2 separate regions of the Homo sapiens genome follow, and region 2 is linked to region 1. Evidence: promoter capture Hi-C in 16 types of primary human blood cells and fetal thymus (Javierre and others, 2016). All regions are on one chromosome and are shown on one strand. The core of a region is centred on a gene start or on the middle of the fragment in contact, and the rest is flanking DNA. Distances in the headings are between cores, read along the strand shown. Region 1 holds the start of FKBP10 (FKBP prolyl isomerase 10). Region 2 overlaps JUP (junction plakoglobin).

Region 1 (7,167 bases), core at 2,553-5,052:
GGACGGGGTTGGGTGGGATGCCCGGGCCTGATGGCTGCTACTATTTGCTGACAGCAAGTGGGGAGTGGTACGTACAGCACGGAGGGGCAGAGGAGCATTACTATATGGGATTAAATGCTTGGCATTTTACATTCCGTATCTTCTTTGTCTCCCCTGTGAGGTGGGCATTCTTGTTCTCATTTTTCTTAATGAGAGCAATGGAGACTTGAGAGACTCAGTGCCTTGCCCAAGGTCACACAGCTAATATGTAGTCAGCTGAGTTCTAAAATTTGCCATTATACTATTGGCTCTCCAAGAAAAGACGGGAGAGCAGAGGTGGGGTGGGAGCTGGTTTCACATTTTGAAAAGGCCTATTCTACAATCCTGGCTAACACAGTGAAACCCCGTCTTTACTAAAAATACAAAACATTAGCCAGGTGTGGTGGCGGGCGCCTGTAGTCCCAGTTACTCAGGAGGCTGAGGCAGGAGAATGGCGTGAACCCGGGAGGCGGAGGTTGCAATGAGCCGAAATCGTGCCACTGGACTCCAGCCTGGCGACAGAGTGAGACTCCCTCTCAAAAAAAAAAAAAAAAAAAAAAGCCTATTCTAAAAGTGCCATGGCTTTTGTTTGTTTTTAGTTATACACTTTTAATTAATGTATTTATTTTTACTTATACATATGTATTTTTGGAGATGGAGTCTCGGCTCTGTCACCCAGGCTGGAGTGCAGTGGTGCAATCAGCTCACTGCAACCTCCACCTCCCGGGTTTAAGCGATTCTCCTGCCTCAGCCTCCGAAGTAGCAGCTGGGATCACAGGCATGCACCACCATATCTGGCTAATTTTTGTATTTTTAGTAGAGAGGGCTTTCGCCATGTTGCCCAGGCTGGTCACTCTTGGCCTCAAGTGATCTGCCTGCCTGGGCCTCCCAAAGTGCTGGGATTACAGGAGTGAGCCACTGTGCCCAGCCAATTATATACACTTTTAATTTATTTTAAGTTTTCAGAAGTAAAGTGAGGATGGGAGATTTTTTTTTTTTTAATTGAAGGGGCCATGGGTTAAGAAAGTTTTCTGGCCGAGCGCAGTGGCTCACGCCTGTAATCCCAGCACTTTGGGAGGCCGAGGCGGGCAGATCATGAGGTCAGGAGATGGAGACCACCCTGGCTAACATGGTGAAACCCCGTCTCTACTAAAAATACAAAAAAAATTGTGGAGGCGCCTGTAGTCCCAGCTAATCGGGAGGCTGAGGCAGGAGAATGGTGTGAACCCAGGAGGCGGAGCTTGCAGTGAGCAGAGATCGCGCTACTGCACTCCAGCCTGGGGGACAGAGCAAGACTCTGTCTCAAAAAAAAAAAAAGTTTTCTAAGTTGTGTGGGCGCGGGGGCTCACGCCTGTAATTCTAGCACTTTGGGAGGCTGAGGAGGGTGGATTGCCTGAGCTCAGAAGTTTGTGACCAGCCTGAGCAACATGGTGAAACGCCATCTCTACTAAAATATGAAAAATTAAGGCTGGGCGCCGTGGCTTACGCCTGTAATCCCAGCACTTTGGGAGGCCGAGGTGGGCGGATCACGAGGCTGGGGTGGCATGTCTGACTGTGTGACACGTAGACAGACAGGGCCTCCGCAGGGAGCCATGCCCTACCCCCAGGTCCAGCTGGCTGTCTTCTTATAATACCCACCCGCCTTTTTCAAGACCAGTCTGGCCAACATAGTGAAACCCCTCTCTACTAAAAATACAAAAAAATTAGCCGGGTGTGGTGGTGTGCACCTGTAATCCCAGCTACTCGGGAGGCTGAGGCAGGAGAATCACGTGAACCTGGGAGGCAGAGGCGGAGGTTGCAGTGAGTTGAGATTGCTCCATTGCACTCCAGCCCAGGCAACAGTGTGAGACTGTGTCTCAAAAAACAAAAACAAACAAACAAACAAAAATTAGCTGGGCGTGGTGGCATGCGCCTGTAATCACAGCTACTTGGGAGGCTGAAGCAGGAGAATTGCTTGAACCCAGGAGGTTGCAGTGAGCTGAGATGGCACCACTGCACTCCAGCCTGGGCGACAGAGTGAGCCTCCAGCTAAAAAACAAAAAGTTTTCCAAGCTCAACACTCATGAGCTGGGCTCCCAGAGTCCCCATCAGGGATGACATCCCCTAAATCCCAACCCCTGCCTCACTCCTAGCAGTCAAGGGCTCAGGGCTGCACTTCTGGCTACTACCCTATATCTGAATTTGCCCACCAAGCAGACAGGTTTTAAGTCTGGACTGTTTCCTTCTCAGTGTTGTTATGAAGGCTTAAGCTCTGCATTAAGTTTCTACAAGTTCCACAGCATCAGGTCATATGGTTTTCCTCAGGGTCAATGTTAATGTGTGCTGAACTGGCTGGAGGACTGCCAGGCCCTGTGAGAAGCCTACGTTCATTCATCCATGTCCTTGGAGTCCTAACATCAGCCTTAGCAAGTAGGTCCTGTTTTTGTCTCCACTTTTCAGATAAGGAAAGTGATGCCTAAAGAGACAAAATTCTCTGTCCATGGTCATAGCCTGGATTTGAACCAGGGTCTTGGGACTCTTGGAGTTTGTAGGCTTACCCCAATATATGCCTGCCTCTAAAGTCATGGCCACTAATTTCCTGTGGGCTGAGTTGTGTGTTTCAGAGGAGGGTCTAAGAAACACTGACTTCTTTCAGTGTGCTGTGGGGTCTGTGTGTAACTGGGACCCTAGATTTACCCCTGAGGCTGGCATACAGCCCTGCCCTGTCCCCGCTAACAAAAGTGGACTTGCTGGGGCAGACCAAAGGCCTGGGTCAGACCAGGAGGCCACCTTACAAACCCCAAGGCTGGCAAAAATGGGCGGCCTGTGCCTCTGGCCTGGTGTACCTAAAATGGAGAGAGATGAGGGTTCCAGGAGAACCAGAGAGGGAGGAATGAAATTCCTCCAAGGAGCCCAGGGTGGCATGTCCGACTGTGTGACACGTAGACAGGGCCTCCGCAGGGAGCCACGCGCTACCCCCAGGTCCAGCCGGCTGTCTTCTTATAATACCCACCAGCCTTTTTCCCTGCCCACCAGCCGCTGAAAACTCCCACCCCCTCCAAAAAAAAGTTCTATTCCCTCTTCTCTGACCACAAAGGCACTGAAAACAGTGGAACCAGAAGGGGAGTCAGGGTGGGTGGAAAGGTACGGGGTCCAGGCTGATAGACCATCCCAGGGTTCTTAAGCAGCAGGGACCACCCCCTTCCCCCCAACACTGTAGATCAGAACACCCCTCTCCATCAGGTCATTACATACAGCCCTGGTAACTACACAAGGCAGTTCACCTTGATTATCGAGTCCTTTCCGGGATGTGGAGAGCTTGTGAGAAAGAAATGGGATCCTTTGAGAAGTGAGGGTTTGGAAGTGGGGGCAGGAGGGTATCTTTGGGGAGATGGGTGTCTGGGAGGCCCCAGGGGTGCTGTCTAGGGTTAGAGTATTGGGATGCAGAGCTTAAAAGAGGCAACAAGGAAACAGGACCCCGGGTTCAGGGGACGGAGTGGTGAATCCGGGGGCGCCCAACCGGGGTTACCTTGAATCAAACTTCTTGCCATCTTCAAAAGTGCCGTTGTAGTGGTAGCGCACAAAATCCCCCATCTGCACTTCCCGGGGACAGGCCCTGGGGATGTGGTACCTCTCGATGACCACATCTTCCAGGGGGCCCCCGGCCGGGCTGGCGCGGCCCAGCCCCCTCCCCACGGCCTGCACCACCAGTAGCAGCAACTGCAGCAGGGGGAGCCGGAGGAGGCTGTGGCTGGGGGGGCCCGCGGGGAACATGGTGCCTGGAGTTGGGACCGCCGGCAGTGAGGGCGAGCGAGGGAGTCGCCACCAACCTCCTTCCCCCCGCCTCCCAGAACTGGCTCCCCCTCTTCCTGTCCTCTTTCCCTACCCCCGCCCTGGCTGGTCCACGTGGAATGGGGGCTGGGAAGACTGAGCTGGCCTGGCCGGGAGGAGCGGGGGAGGGGGTTGCAATAGGAGGAGGGGGCCAGGCTGAGTGTGTTAGAGTCTGAGGGAGGCACTACAAAGAACTCTAGGTTCCCCCTCCCCCCATCTCCATCCCTGGCTGCGAGACCTGGGGCCTGGCCAGGGAGAGAGGCTCGGGAAAGATGAGAACTCTGAGTGGACACCAAAGGAAAAAAAAAAAAAAAAGTTCAATGACTTTTTCCGGAGCCCCCGGGTCCTAAAGCCGGGCGGAGATGAACCTTGCTTCTTTCGCGGGCACTTCGAATTCTAGTCCCCTCCAGGTGGGTGGTGAAGCCGCGGAGTGTGAGAGGCATCTCCGTGCTCATCCGTGACCCCAGCTGTACTCCAAGGGAAGGCATCTCCAGGGAAGAGCAGCTTGGTCCCGCAAAAGCTGGACTGAAAGAAGGACTTTGTGACTTGGGATGTGACGGGCACGGAGATGGAGTGGGGGGTGGTGGCAGCGCAAGGTGTGCAGGTGACAGCAGGTGTGTGCCTCCGACGTGGGCGGGGGAGACACTCGGAGGGTGCAGGAGGGCGCAGCGACGGAAGGCCCGGCTCCAGGGCTTCCTTCTCGTATGGGCAGCGCAGAGGAGGCGGCCCTCACTCAGTGTCCTGATCTCAGGCGGGGGCACTGTTTGCATGGGGAGGGGCTTCCTGGGCTTCCCATCTCTGGCGGGAAGCGCTCCCCGACGCATTCTCTACCTAGGGGACACCCCCAAGGCAGGAGCCCGGGCCGACGGAGAGGACTTAACGACACTATCGGACCCTCTGGGAAAAGAGGGGAGACGTCGTGACCCAGGCCCCGCCCCACCTTGCCGCCTCGTGCCCGGCGCTAAGACCCAGCGGGCGCGCCGCCCGCCCGGGGCCCGGCCCTGTCCCCTTCCGTCCGCGGGGCAGCCAGCTCAGCTCCGGAGAGCCGGCGGCGCGGCGGGCATGGCTCGGGTGGCGTGGGGGCTGCTGTGGTTGCTGCTGGGCAGCGCCGGGGCGCAGTACGAGAAGTACAGCTTCCGGGGCTTCCCGCCCGAGGACCTGATGCCGCTGGCCGCGGCGTACGGGCACGCTCTGGAGCAGTACGAGGGAGAGAGCTGGCGCGAGAGCGCGCGCTACCTGGAGGCGGCGCTGCGGCTGCACCGGCTCCTGCGCGACAGCGAGGCCTTCTGCCACGCCAACTGCAGCGGCCCCGCGCCCGCGGCCAAGCCCGATCCCGACGGCGGCCGCGCAGACGAGTGGGCCTGCGAGCTGCGGCTCTTCGGCCGCGTCCTGGAGCGAGCCGCCTGCCTGCGGCGCTGCAAGCGGACGCTGCCCGCCTTCCAGGTGCCCTACCCGCCGCGGCAGCTGCTGCGTGACTTCCAGAGCCGCCTGCCCTACCAGTACCTGCACTACGCGCTGTTCAAGGTGGGAGCCCGCCCCCACCCGGGGACCTGTCTCGGGCTGGGCGTCGTGGCTCCCCACAGATCGGTCGAAGGAGCGTTATCTTCACCCAAGGCACGAAGCCCGCCGTGCGCTCGGGGCCGCGAGCTCCGGTCTTGCTGACCCGCTCCCCCACCCCCTACCCCCCGACCAGGCTAACCGGCTGGAGAAGGCGGTGGCGGCGGCCTACACCTTCCTCCAGAGGAACCCGAAGCACGAGCTGACCGCCAAGTATCTCAACTACTATCAGGGGATGCTGGACGTCGCCGACGAGTCCCTCACGGACCTAGAGGCCCAGCCCTACGAGGTGGGGTGGAGGGTCAGGAGGAGGCTTGTAGAGGAGGGCTAGTAGAGGAGGGGAGATGTTGGGGGCGCCCTGACTCCCCCTGCCACGCCCCTTCCAGGCCGTGTTCCTCCGGGCTGTGAAGCTCTACAACAGCGGGGATTTCCGCAGCAGCACGGAGGACATGGAGCGGGCCTTGTCAGAGTACCTGGCAGTCTTTGCCCGGTGCCTGGCCGGCTGTGAAGGGGCCCATGAGCAGGTGGACTTCAAGGACTTCTACCCGGCCATAGCAGGTATCTGCCACCCAGACCACGGTGGGCGGTCCTCTCACCCACAGGGCCCGGTAAGGCAGATGTCCCCTTCATGCACGTGGAGCACTGCGAATGCGGAGGAGCCAGCCGGGAGGAAGGCCTTGTCTGTTGAGAAAGACGCTGGGTGCAGGGGCCCCAGCTGGGAGTGTCCAAGGGGCTGGATCAGTGAGTAGAGGCAGTGACATCCCTAAAGGGTTTGGGAAGCTTGGGTTCATAGGCCTTCCAGGCAGAGGGCAGTGCAGATGCAAAGGTGCAGCGGTGAGAAGTAACCCAGCAGATGTGTGCAGAAAGCAGTTGATAACCAGAAATTACACCTAGTCTTGGGATCTCTAACCCTGGGGTCCCTCGAGCAGGGGCAGAAAGGACTGTACTTGGCCAGGTGTGGTGGCTCACACCTGTAATCTCAGCACTCTGGGAGGCCGAGGCAGGCAGATCACGAGGTCAGGAGTTCAAGACCAGCCTGACCAACATGGTGAAACCCCGTCTCTACTGAAAGTACAAAAATTAGCTGGTCGTGGTGGCGGGCACCTGTAATCCCAGCTACTCGGGAGGCTGAGGCAGGAGAATCGCTTGAACCTGGGAGGCGGAGGTTGCATTGAGCCCAGATCGCGCCACTGCACTCCAGCCTGGTCGACAGGGCGAGACTCTGTCTCAAAAAAAAAAAAAAAAAAAAAAGACTGTCCTTTAGCTTCTCTGTTTGGACTTCTGCCCCATTTCTGGACCTCACCTGCTGCTCTCCCAGAATGCCCTGGCTCCCTCTGGCTTGGGGTGGTGGTTGAGTGGCAGGGGTGGTGAGTCAGCCCAGCCCACAGTCATCTTCCTCACCATCACTTGTCATATAGTATGCCAAGCACTTTACAGACATTCTCTCCTGTGATTGCAACAGCAACACATTTTCTGGACAAGCAGCTTGGCTTAGTAGGCAGAGATTGGATTTAGAGTCTTCTCCACTGGGGGGACGGAGATGTTCATTGCAATGCCAGCCTCTCACTGCTGCCTCCCACCCTCAGATCTCTTTGCAGAGTCCCTGCAGTGCAAGGTGGACTGTGAGGCCAATTTGACCCCCAATGTGGGTGGCTACTTCGTGGACAAGTTCGTGGCCACCATGTACCACTACCTGCAGTTTGCCTACTATAAGTGTGAGCCCCCTGGGTGGGCTGGCTTGGGCAGGGGACGAGGTGATAAGGGAGAGGACTGTATGGGAGC
Region 2 (6,693 bases), core at 4,056-6,555, 56 kb after region 1:
GCTCACTGCAACCTCTGCTTCCCGGGTTCAAGTGATTCTCCTGCCTTGGCCTCCTGAGTAGTTGGGATTACAGGTGCACGCCACCATGTCTGGATAATTTTTGTATTTTTAGTAGAGATGGGATTTTGCCATGTTGCTCAGACTGATCTTGAACTCCTGAACTCAAGTGATCCACCAGCCTCAGCCTCCCAAAGTACGGGGATTACAGGTGTGAGACACCAGGCCCGGACAATTCTGTATTTCTTCTTTTTTTTTTTTTTTTTGAGACGGAGTTTTGCTCTTATTGCCCAGGCTGGAGTGCAATGGTGCGATCTCGGCTTACTGCAACCTCCGCCTCCCGGGTTCAAGCGATTCTCCTGCATTTTTTAGTAGAGACGGGATTTCTCTATGTTGGTTAGGCTGGTCTTGAACTCCTGACTTCTGGTGATCCACCCACTTTGGCCTTCCAAAGTGCTAGGATTACAGGTGTGAGCCACTGCACCTGGCCCAATTCTGTATTTTTAACAAGCTCGCAGGTGCTGCTCCATGGAGCACATTTCTTATGCCACTGGGTGTAGACGAGAGGGTTGTCCTCACACGAATGAGTGGACTGTATCATCCCCACGGATGTGTTCTAGCCCTGAGAACTGGGGATGGCTAGCGGCCACCAGAAAGTGGCACACATCACTCCTGCTCACACCCCAGAACTTGGTCATTCAGCCACATCAAGGTGCAAGGAGGTTAGGAAGTGTGATCACCAGCCAGATGGCCGTGTGTCCTGCTGAAAATCAGGAGAGCCACTACAGAGACACAGGGCACAGAGGATTCTGGGGACGCTTAGCATCTCCCATAGGGAGTTGGGTGTGTGAAGGAGTGGGGTCTTCTTCTTGAGGCTACCTGGGTGGAAGAGAGCTAGCTGTGTGTCACTTCCCTGTCAGGTGGGGGAAGTGAGAGTGGGTCAGGGTGTGGGCAGACCCAAGGGACAGAGTTATGGGGGAAAGCGTTTGTGTGTGTGTATATCTATATGTAGAGACAAGGAAGGCAGCCAAAGGCAAGGTGGCATCTGGTGCCAGAGAGTGAGGAAGCTACCATCGATGAGGGTCTTGTCAACGGGCACAGGAGCCAGCTGGCAGGGGCATCCGCCAGCTACATTTAAGACAATTTAATAGTACAGACAGGCCAGGCGCAGTGGCTCACGCCTGTAATCCCAGCACTTTGGGAGGACGGGGCGGGAGGATTACCTGAAGTTAGGAGTTCGAGACCAGCCTGGCCAACATAGTAAGTCCCCGCCTCCACAAAAAATACAAAAATTAGCTGGCCATGGTGGCATGTGCCTGTAATCTCAGCTACTCGGAAGGCTGAGGCAGAAGAATTACTTGAACCCGGAAGGCAGAGGTTGCAGTGAGCTGAGATCGCTCATTGCACTCCAGCCTGGGTGACAGAGAGAGACTCCGTCTTGGAAAACAAAAACAAAAAACATGGCCAGGCGTGGTGGCTCACGCCTGTAATCCTAGCACTTTGGGAGGCCGAGGCGTGTGGATCACGAGGTCAGGAGATCGAGACCATCCTGGCTAACACGGTGAAACCCCATCTCTACTAAAAAAATACAAAGAAATTAGCCAGGCGTGGTGGCGGGCGCCTGTGGTCCCAGCTACTCAGGAGGCTGAGGCAGGAGAATGGTGTGAACCCGGGAGGCGGAGCTTGCAGTGAGCTGAGATCGCGCCACTGCACTCCAGCCTGGGCGACAGAGCGAGACTCCGTCTCAAAAAAAACAAACAAAAAAACAAACAAACAAAAAAAACCCAGTGCAGATAAGAATGACTCTAAGTGATTCTACACATTGAATTATTATTTTTTATTATTATTATTATTTTTGAGACAGATTCTTGCTCTGTTGCCCAGGCTGGAGTGCAGTGGCATGATCTCAGCTCACTGCAACCTCCGCCTCCCAGGTTCAAGCAATTCCCGGCTAATTTCTGTATTTTTAGTAGAGACGTGGTTTCACCATGTTGGCCAGGCTGGTCTCGAACTCCTGACCTAAAGTGATCTGCCTGCCTTGGCCTCCCAAAGTGCTAGGATTACAGGCGTGAGCCACTGCGCCCGGCCTATACATTGAATTAAAAAAAGAAAATTCATGTTTAGAAAAAAAAATGTCATTGTGACCCCTCCTTGATGCTTGGTCCCTGCTGCAAACCTGAGGTGGGACTTTGCATCCTAACCCAGCAGCTAAGTGGCAAGTGACTTTGGCAAGTCATTTGCCCTGTGCTCACGTCCCCATCTCACATGATTTTCATCCCTGTCCTCCTGGCGTCTTGTTTTGAGGATGAAATAGATGACACCTTGAGAGGCTCTGGGAGGCCAGAGTGGCTCCTCTGAGTCAAAGACCCTGGGGAGGAGATCTCAGGACACCTCTTTCCAGAGCTGCCCTGCTGGGGATTAATGACAATGTGAGCACCACCCAAGCAGGAGGCTTCGGGGGCACCTAGAGCACAGAATTCCTGAGAATCAGGCTTGGAGGACTATCAGAAAAGCAAGCAAGGTCATGGTGTCTGTGGGGGGTGGTTAAGAAAGAGGGGACAGGGTGAGGGGCCAGGCATGGGGCTGGCAGGATGTTCTGGAATGGGGTGTCATTTTAGCAAGGGCTATTAGAATTAGCCATGAGCAGCCGGACGTGGTAGCCCACACCTGTAATCCCAGCACTTTAGAAGGCAGAAGCAGGCGGATCACCTGAGGTCAGGGGTTCGAGGCCAGCCTGCCCAACATGGCGAAACCCCGTCTCTACTAAAAATACAAAAAATTAGCTGGGCATGGTGGCAGGCACCTGTAATCGCAGCTACTCAGGAGGCTGAGGCAGGAGAATCGCTTGAACCCAGGAGGTGGAGGTTGCAGTGAGGTGAGATTGCACCACTGCACTCCAGCCTGGGTGACAAGAGCGAAACTCTGTCTCAAAAAAAAAAAAAAAAAAGAATTAGCCATGAGCACTCCCAGATCCTGTGGATTAAGTGACATGGCTGGGATGGTCTCCTTCTCTGGATATTTTCCAGTATGTCTGTGTCTGGCCTCGGGGACAGAAGAGGTGAAGGAGGGAAGGGATACTTGAAGCTGGGAAGCTGGGATCCTTCAGATGTCCAAGAAGTGCCCCTGATCACTGCCCCTTTTTTTGCCAGGCAACCATCGGCTTGATCAGGAATCTGGCCCTGTGCCCAGCCAACCATGCCCCGCTGCAGGAGGCAGCGGTCATCCCCCGCCTCGTCCAACTGCTGGTGAAGGCCCACCAGGATGCCCAGCGCCACGTAGCTGCAGGCACACAGCAGCCCTACACGGTATGTGAGCTGGTGGTGCCTCTGACAGCCTTCCTGGGGGGTCAGGGTGTCCTCTGTGGGTGTGTGTGTGAATGGGGAGGTCAGTTGCAACTGATGCCAATTCCAAGAACCTGTGAAGTTCATTCGGCTGTCATGGGGAGGAGTTGTGGCCATGTCCAAGGCACCTGTCCCATGCCCCCTGCCTCCTCTCACACAGGATGGTGTGAGGATGGAGGAGATTGTGGAGGGCTGCACCGGAGCACTGCACATCCTCGCCCGGGACCCCATGAACCGCATGGAGATCTTCCGGCTCAACACCATTCCCCTGTTTGTGCAGGTGAGTCTGGGGCAGGTGGGCAGGAGAGGTCCCCCCACCACTGCTTAAAGGGCAAGGTTAGGAGTCCCAGATTTGGGAGGCCTGGACCAGGTATCAAGAGGTCTTTGGAGGAGTTTGGAGGAAAGTTGCCACTCCAGATTGACTACTTAGCAACCCCCTGCATGGGCATGGCTTTCTAAGCTTCAAAGCAAGGAAAGAGATCACAAATGGAAAAAAAAAACAAAAAACAAAAAAACTTGAGATTCAACCATATAAACATGAAAACCATCTGTATTTCAGAAAGAACCTAAAAAAGCATTTTTAAAAAATCAGCAAACTGGGAGAATATGTGCAAGTACCATAACAGACAAGAAGAGTCTAACATCTTTCACATCAGTGAGCTCATTAACACTAGATTCCAATGGTTAGATGAGGCAGAGTCACAGGTAATTTCAAGGTAGCTCATGAACAATGCTCAGCCCAGTTTAAAGCAGTAACACTTACTCCCCAGTGACGGCCCATTTTCCACTATGGAATTGCTACAGGGTGGAGGTGGGCAGTGCTGTGGGGTGTGTTGTCCGGCCTGCCTCACCCCTTTCCACCTCTCCCCTGCTTCCCACGTCCCCTCTCCCCAGCTCCTGTACTCGTCGGTGGAGAACATCCAGCGCGTGGCTGCCGGGGTGCTGTGTGAGCTGGCCCAGGACAAGGAGGCGGCCGACGCCATTGATGCAGAGGGGGCCTCGGCCCCACTCATGGAGTTGCTGCACTCCCGCAACGAGGGCACTGGTGAGCTGGGGGAGGGCAGGAGGCTGGGTCCCACTCCCCCAGCCACGATGGAGGCTGGCCGACGTTTAACCTGGCTTTTCCTTTCCTCTCTGCTCAGCCACCTACGCTGCTGCCGTCCTGTTCCGCATCTCCGAGGACAAGAACCCAGACTACCGGAAGCGCGTGTCCGTGGAGCTCACCAACTCCCTCTTCAAGCATGACCCGGCTGCCTGGGAGGCTGTGAGTATCCTAGGTTGGACCACAGTAGTTGGTTGTGCAAGTTGGGCACTGCCCATGGGCAACACTTTTGGGGGTCTCCTACTACTGTCAACTTCATAGATTTTTATTTTGTAATTGGATCATTTATAACAATTCCTAGCAGATGGAAGTAGTGGGTTGAATCATATATCCACAAAATGCCAATTTTTATTTTGCCCAAATGAGTATACAGTGTTTGAGGTGGGGGTGCCTTTTTGTAATTTGCGTGGAGGTGCTGGATAGGCTATGGGCGGTCTTTTCCAGGGTGGGGCAGTGCCCTGTACCCATTCTTGAGTCCTCTGCCTCCTCCCCTGAGCTGCTCTAGTCCGGCAGGAGTCCCTGCTTCATGAGTGGGGAACCCTCCTCCCTGGGGAGTACCGAGGACATGAGTATATCAGGGCACTGGGTGACCCCATTTCATCATCCTCTATTCCTCCAAGGCCTCTTTGCTTTTCTCCAGCCCCCTCTTTTATTTATTTATTTATTTTTATATTTTTTGAGATGGAGTCTTGCTCTGTCGCCAGGCTGGAGTGCAGTGGTGTGATCTTGGCTCACTGCAACCTCCGCCTCCCGGTTTCAAGCAATTCTCCTGCCTCAGCCTTCTGAGTAACTGGGACTACAGGTGCACGCTACCACACCCGGCTAATTTTTCTATTTTTAGTAGAGACGCGGTTTCGCCATGTTGGCCAGGATGATCTCGATTGTCTCCTGACCTTGTGATCCGCCCGCCTTGGCCTCCCAAAGTGCTGGGATTACAGGCGTGAGCCACTGCGCCCAGCCTATTTTTTATTTTTTTCGAGACAGAGTCTCACTCCTGTCGCCCAGGCTGGAGTGCAATGGTGTAATCTCGGCTCACTGCATCCTCTGCCTCCCCATTCAAGCAATTCTCCTGCCTCAGCCTCCCGAGTAGCTGGGATTACAGGCCTGCACCACCACGCCCAGCTAATTTTTTTTGTATTTTTAGTAGAGACAGGGTTTCACCATGTTGGCCAGGCTGGTCTGGAACTCCTGACCTCAAGTGATCCGCCTGCTGTCTCCCAGAGTGCTGGGATTACAGGCGTGAGCCATGGCACCCAGCCTGGCCCCCTCTTTTAGAAGCATCTCTCCCTGCCCACCAGCTGAGATCCAGCTCGGAGCCTGCATTTTCAAACCTCCCCTCCATGTTTCTCTCTCCTTTTTCAGGCCCAGAGCATGATTCCCATCAATGAGCCCTATGGAGATGGTAAGTGTGTGCCGGGCTCTTCAGGACCCTGGAGATCCTGGGCGGCTGTGTGGGTGTGTGTGAGGGGACAATATTATGTCTCCGGGGCCAGAGGACCAGTGGCAACTGCTGTGTGGCATCCACATGTACCCCAGTCTAGATGCCCTGGTGTGGGGTCTGGGGAGGGGTCAGGCCCACCAGGGGTGGGCATGGGTAGAGGAGGCAGCTGAAGGCTGTGCAGACTGCTCCCTGCAGGGTAGCTTGCAGACCCTAGGACCGAGCCCCACTTTTTGTCCCCAGACATGGATGCCACCTACCGCCCCATGTACTCCAGCGATGTGCCCCTTGACCCGCTGGAGATGCACATGGACATGGATGGAGACTACCCCATCGACACCTACAGCGACGGCCTCAGGCCCCCGTACCCCACTGCAGACCACATGCTGGCCTAGGCGGCCTGGCCCCAGTACGGCCCCCTCTTTGCAGGCTTTTCCTCCTCTCTAGAACCTCCTTCTGTTGGAGGCCCTCCCATCTCCCCGCTGAAACCTGCGCTCCTTTTTTGGGGGGATCCTTTGCTGCTGAGCTTCCCCAAGCACGGTGTGCCCTGGCCTGCCTTCTTCTTGTGTCTTTGGTGGGGATGGGGAGGCCTATTCCTGCTGGCCCCTTCTGGGGGTGGTGGGCAGGTGACACGGAGTGGCTTGAGCTTCTGGGGATGCAGGTCCACCGAGCCCCTGACCCCTGTCTGTCCCCGCTCCCCTAACAGGTGCGGTTCCTCATCTGAGAGGCTCTCCGTGCAGGCGATGGGGCAAGACAGAAAAGTGCCTGAGCTGGGGAAGCCGGGGTGTAACTTCCTGCTGCACCCTGCGCCTCCA

What was found. The method cuts DNA at HindIII sites, captures the fragments that hold promoters and counts their contacts. A CHiCAGO score of 5 or more calls a contact.
Region 2: a contact is called between a fragment that was not itself captured here and the fragment with the promoter of FKBP10 in region 1, in 1 of 17 cell types (endothelial precursors). The highest score is 6.5, in endothelial precursors.

What each region holds. Positions count from the first base shown.
Region 1 is chr17:41,809,639-41,816,805 of GRCh38, reverse strand. FKBP10 (FKBP prolyl isomerase 10) reads right to left here and starts at 3,802. Exons shown (of 10, transcript NM_021939.4): 1 at 3,527-3,802. The coding sequence starts at 3,771. P3H4 (prolyl 3-hydroxylase family member 4 (inactive)) reads left to right here and starts at 4,857. Exons shown (of 8, transcript NM_006455.3): 1 at 4,857-5,352; 2 at 5,522-5,674; 3 at 5,772-5,943; 4 at 6,972-7,100. The coding sequence starts at 4,891. RefSeq lists enhancers at 1,000-1,499, 1,500-2,001, 4,488-4,597 and a silencer at 4,738-5,227. The HindIII fragment of the contact is 9,756 bases long and covers 1-6,167 here.
Region 2 is chr17:41,755,324-41,762,016 of GRCh38, reverse strand. JUP (junction plakoglobin) reads left to right here. Exons shown (of 14, transcript NM_002230.4): 9 at 3,147-3,302; 10 at 3,499-3,618; 11 at 4,233-4,383; 12 at 4,481-4,602; 13 at 5,803-5,842; 14 at 6,122-6,693. The coding sequence ends at 6,273. Among named protein-coding and RNA genes, the nearest start is that of HAP1, 24 kb to the right of the region's middle. The HindIII fragment of the contact is 3,009 bases long and covers 3,801-6,693 here.